Regions from separate parts of the Homo sapiens genome. Here region 1 is linked to region 2. The links are contacts of gene promoters, found by promoter capture Hi-C in blood cells and fetal thymus (Javierre and others, 2016). All regions are on one chromosome and are shown on one strand. The core of a region is centred on a gene start or on the middle of the fragment in contact, and the rest is flanking DNA. Distances in the headings are between cores, read along the strand shown.

What was found. Contacts are between HindIII fragments. The CHiCAGO score rates a contact against its expected background, and 5 or more counts as called.
Region 1: a fragment that was not itself captured here is called in contact with the fragment with the promoter of TCL1B in region 2 in 1 of 17 cell types (naive B cells); the score reaches 6.8 in naive B cells.

What each region holds. Positions count from the first base shown.
Region 1 is chr14:95,985,310-95,988,280 of GRCh38, forward strand. No RefSeq gene overlaps it. Among named protein-coding and RNA genes, the nearest start is that of C14orf132, 53 kb to the right of the region's middle. The HindIII fragment of the contact is 628 bases long and covers 1,241-1,868 here.
Region 2 is chr14:95,684,928-95,687,784 of GRCh38, forward strand. It overlaps TCL1B (TCL1 family AKT coactivator B), which reads left to right and starts at 1,499. Exons shown (of 4, transcript NM_004918.4): 1 at 1,499-1,702. The coding sequence starts at 1,541. The HindIII fragment of the contact is 10,915 bases long and covers 1-1,551 here.

The DNA.
Region 1 (2,971 bases), core at 305-2,804, 300 kb after region 2:
CTGTAGTATTGTATGCTCTTAGATAGCATTTTACCCACAGTAGAACTTCTTTCAAAATTGAAGTCAGTCCTCTCAAACCCTATCACTGCTTTATCAACTCATTGTATGTAATATTCTAAATCCTTTGCTGTCATTTCAATAATATTCAAAGCATCTTCACTGGGAGTTGACTTCATCTCAAGAGATTTTAGCAATTCACTGATATCTTCAAGTTTCCCTTCTAATTCTAGTTCTCTTGCTGTTTCCACTACATCAGTAGTTACTTCCTCTGCAAAGTCTTGAACCCCTGGAAGTCATTCATGAGGGTTGAAATCAATGTCTTTCAAATTCCTGTTCATATTGATATTTTGACTTCCTCCTATGGATAAGGAATGTTCTTAATGACATTTAGAATGGTGAGTGTTTTCCAGAAAGTATTCAATTTACTTTGTCCAGATCCATCAGAGGATTCACTATCTATGGCAGCTATAGCCTTATAAAATGTATTTCTTAAATAATAAGACTTGAAAGTCAAAATTACCTCTTGATCCTTGGGCTGCAGAATGGATGTTGTGCTAGCAAGCATCGAAACAATATTCGTCTCCTTGTACAGCTCCATCAGAGCTCTTGGGTGACTAGGCTCGTTGTCAATGAGCAGTAATATTTTGAAAGGAATCTTTTCTTATGAGCAGTAAGTCTCAACAGGGGACTTAAGATACTCAGTAATTTATTCAGTAATCAATTTCATTAATTTCTCCTCTTCAGCTATGGAAGTCCTAGATGGCCTTTTCTTCTAGTAGAAGGCTGTTTCATCTACACTGAAGCCACCTTCATCAGTGGTCTTCTGGATAACTTGCTGCAACTTCTACATCAGCACTTGCTGCTTTCCCTTGCTCTTACATGTTATGGAGACAGCTTCTTTCCTTAAACCTCATGAACCAACCTTTGCTAGCTTCCAGCTTTTCTTCTGCAGCTTCTTCACTTCTCTCAACCTTCACAGAACTGAAGAGAGTTGGGGCCTTGTTCTGGGTTAGGCTTTGGCTTAAGAAAATGTGGCTGACTTGATCTTCTATTCTTATCACTAAAACTTTCTCCATATCAGCAATAAGGCTGCTTAGCCTTCTTATCTTTTGTGTGTTTACTGGAGCAGCACTTTTAATTTCCTTCAAGAATTTTTCCTTTACATTCACAACTTGGCTAACTGGCCCAAGAGGCCTAGCTTTTGGTCTGTCTCACTTTTTTTGACATGCCTTCCTCACTAAGCTTAATCATTTCTAGCTTTTAATTTAAAGTGACAGACGTGTGACTTTTCTTTTCACCTGAATGCTTCAAGGCCCATTGTAGGGTTATTAACTGGCCTAATGGCAATATTGTTATGTCTCAGGAAATAGGGAGGCTTGAGGAGAGGGGGAGAGATGATAGATCAGCTAATCAATGAAGCAGTCAGAACACATGCATTTATCAACTAAGTTCACTGTTTATGGCACCCCAAGACAATTGCAGTAGTGACATCAGAGATCATTGATCACAGATCACCATAACAGATATAATAATGAAAAAGTCTGAAGTATTTTGAGATTACCAAAATGTGAAACAGAGACACAAAGTGAGCACATGCTGTTAGAAAAATAAGACTTGCTGAACACAGAGTTGCTATAACCCTTTAATTTGTAATAGATGGAATATCTGTGAAGTGCAAAAAAGTGAAGTGCAATAAAATGAAGTTTATACTTGTGCTACATTTTTGAGGGTCATGTTACCAAAGAACCATACAGACAGACTGAATAAGACCTTCAGTCTTCAAGCCTTAAGGCTTGTACCAAACTTTTAGAACAGCAGTCCATAAGGAGGGCTTATTTCTCAATGCCTGATTCATGTGCTACCAAGGAAGCTTACAAAAAAAGAAATAACCTCATGGGTAGAACCAGGCTCATGGAGAAAAGTGAACAAAGCAGCATCTCTCAGAGAGCAAAACTAGAGCCTAATCATGGATGCCGAGGATATGGGCTTTCATGACGTCTGCCCAGTGGGATTTCAGAATTGCTATGGACAGTGACTCTATGTACTTCCCATCCTTCCCTTTTCCAAGTGGGAGGTGCCTATTGAGGCCATATTATCTCAGTTTCATCATTATATATTGGAAGCAGGGTTGGCAGGTGACTTTTTTTTTTTTTCCAGTTTTGGTATCCTTGGACCAAAAGGAGCCACATGCGAACTTGCTGGGAAGAAGGCCAGACATCACCCAGAGATCTGAGTTTGAACTGGATGTGGTGACTGGGGGAGATTTTAGAGGAGGGGTTGAGTGAGCTCTATGTGGGGGCAGAAAGAAATGAGAAGACAGTGATGAGAAGGGCACGCTCAGCAGAGATGGCATACACCAAGTATTCCATGTGCTTCTTTGCACTTCTCAGCCTCCCTTGCAGCTGGATTGAGACTGTGAATAATTATGGCCTGTGAATGCAAGTGGCATGTGTCTTTCTCTCTTGCAGAGGCAGTATATATCAAGTGACATACTAAAAAGTAGAAGAGACCCCCCTGAGCACATTGAACTTTACACAAGGAAAAACATAAACCTTTATTCCATGAAGTCATAGAGATTCCTGGGTTAGTTAGTTTCTGCAGCAGACCCTAGCCTGTCCTGACCAATATTCTGACTATGTGCTACTTTTCTTCAAGTCACTGAGTAGGAACAGATATTGAATAACAAAATAGCATGTTTAGGTAGTTATGAAGTTTCCAAATTTTAATAAAATTCTGATGCTCCTGGTCCCTGGACTTCTAGAACCTCTTCTGAACCAGTCTACAAGTTTGATTGCACTTATTTTTTCTGCTTTTATTTCTGAGCGTGAGGGAGGAGCTGGAAGACTCACTGATAGCTCTCTCTCCTCTTTCTCACTCTAGCCCTTCAGTAAACTGTGTGGGCTAGGTTTGGGGGGAACTTACATTATTTTATATTCTTTAATTTACTGAAATACTATGTATTTATATATAA
Region 2 (2,857 bases), core at 249-2,748:
AGTCTGAGAACATAACTATTGACCAGGGTATTTCAAGTATTCACTATGTGTCAGGCTTTAACACTATACACACAGCCTCATCTGATCCTCAGAGGAGTCCCATAGGGTAGGTACCTACAGCAAACAGGCTTCAGGGGGGCCCAGGAGACCAGGGGTCCCCATGATCCCTGCCTCCTGGTATTCATAACCTTGAGTAAGGATAGGACCTACCCCTGACCAATGGAATATGGCAAAGGTGACACACGTACGTGATTCCATGTATGGATCACATTATATGAGACTGTGATGTCCCTTGTCTTCCTGGCCCACTCCATTCCCACCCCAAGTGTTGGTTCCTTGGAAAAACACTGGGGATGGAGGTGGAATTGCTGTGAAAACAAGACTCAGTCCTCCACAGAAGCTGCCCAGGGAGTTCTTCAAAAGTGGTTATCCTACCTGCCATTTACACTGGATCAGGACTGTCCAGAAATCATTTTCACATCTCCCCAGCAGAATGGCATCATCTCAATACTAATCTTCACTTGAACTAGAAGAATCATGCTTGTGGTTTTCAAAAGGAAAAGGTTCCTATTCATGGTGCATTTAGAAGCAGCCCAGGGTGCTTATAGAACGGACCTGCTTCTTGCTATGTTCTTGAGCTTCTGAGGCCTCTTGACAAAGTCGAGCAAGTAAGACGACCAGGCCAAGTGGGCACTCTGGGCCCCATGGCCAAGGATGGGCTGGCCAGGTGGCCACGTGGCCTCCGGTGGCCTTGTTTCTGTGGGCTTTATCTGATCCTGAGCTCAGATGCTGATAGTGCACTGGCTTATTTTCTAAGGAGAGGGAGCTTGATTTGTGCAGGATGCGCCTTCACCAGATACCTCCAGGGGCAAGAGTCCACTGAGGTTACAGCGCCCCCCGCCCCCCATGCCTCTAAGCTCTAAGCTCAGAGAAGGGTCCCTGACACAGAGTCCTGTTAAAGGAATGGCCACAGGGATAGGAGAGACCAGGGTCGTGCATGCCAGCTCAGGATCTGGGGCAGGATGGTTGGCAGGGGGTCGTGGGGAGCAAAGGAGGGGAATCACCTGACAGAAAATTGGGCAGGGGTGCTCAGGGAGGAGGCTGCGGAGGGACTGGGACCAGTGGAAGGGAGGTGGAATAGGTCTTAGGAGCCAAATTCCTTGCAGAGGCCTGGGGTGAAGCCTGGGCAGCTCTATCCCCGGGAGCCGCCCTTTTGCCTCCAGCAGCTGCCGGTCCAGCCACAGCCCCTCCAGGAGACCCAGGCCGGGTTCCTAACTCCGCTGCTCTTTGGCCTCGTCCCTGCCTAGCCCCTGCTGCAGGTTGCTTTTTTCCCCCCTCCTCCTCCTCCCTCCTCCCTCCTCCCTCCTCCCCCTTCCTCCTCCTCCCCCTCCTCCCCCGACTGGCCCCGCCCCCACTGCCGGCCCCGCCCCCACTGCCGGCCCGGGCCCCACCCACGCCGGAGCTGCTCCATTTAAGGAGATTGCGCAGCTGGAAAGCTACACGTGTGAGCCTAGAGGCGGGTCCCGGTTGCAGACTTGCCATGGCCTCCGAAGCTTCTGTGCGTCTAGGGGTGCCCCCTGGCCGTCTGTGGATCCAGAGGCCTGGCATCTACGAAGATGAGGAGGGGAGAACCTGGGTGACTGTGGTCGTGCGGTTCAATCCCTCGCGTAGGGAATGGGCCAGGGCCTCCCAGGGCAGCAGAGTGAGTCCTGGGCACGAGGGGAGGCTGTGGGGAGGGCTGCGCACTGACCCCTGCCCGTGTGGGACCGCGGTGGGGGTCAGAGGGGGCCGTTCTCACCCGCACTGGAAAACTCACTTCTGTGCAGGTCTAGGAGCGCAGCAATGTCCATGCCCAGCCCTGGCCCCAGGAACACCCCCCGTAAAGGGACCACAGGCACAAGCTTATCCACATGAGATAATGTGGTCCTGCGTGGTGAAGCCGAGGCTAAGGTAGCTCAGGGCTTAGTGCCATTCCCAGTGCCTGCTGGGAAGGCCCACAAATGGGGCAGCTATTGAGCTGGGCTTTGTGGGATGAGTAGGAGTTCTCCAGGTCTAGAAAGGAGGCAGGAGTAGTATAAGCAAAAGCATTGCAGCCTGGAGGCACCAGGTGGGCCAACAGGATGAACATGACATTGGTGTCAGATTACTGATCTGCAAAATGAGAATAATATACCTCTGTGGCAAGCTAGTCACAGACATGCTCACATACATGGCTCACCGCCTGAATGGCCTGGGGAAGCATTTGACTGATAACAGATTCTGGAAATTAATTCAGGAGGCTTGGGTGGAGTCCTAGATTCTTTACTTTTCAAAAGCTCCCCAGGTGATAATGATAATGACTCAGGAAACGGCTGTAGATGAGGGCTTTAGATCACAGCCAGTCTTTGAGGGATGAAGTAAATACAGTAGCGTTTCTGGTGTGGGTGGCGGTGGGGAATTGATTCCAGGACCGACTGTGGATGCTCAAGTCCCTGATAGAAAATGACCTGGGTAGTAATTACATATAACCTCAGCGCATCCTCTACTATATTTGAAATCAGATTACTAATAACACCTAATGCTACACCTACACATCACTTCAAGCTCTGCTTTTGGGAACTTTGTGGAATTTCTTTTTTTCCCAAAATATTTTTAATCTGAGGTTAGTCGAATTCATGGGTGCAGTATCCATGGAAATGGGGGGCTGGCTGTACCTTAGTGTAATGTGGTAAAAGCATATCCGGATATTTAAAATGCCATTTAGGGCTGGGCGCGGTGGCTCACGCCTGTAATCCCAGCACTTTGGGAGGCCGAGATGGGCTTATCACGAGATCAGGAGATCGAGACCATCCTAGCCAACATGGGGAAACCCCGTCTC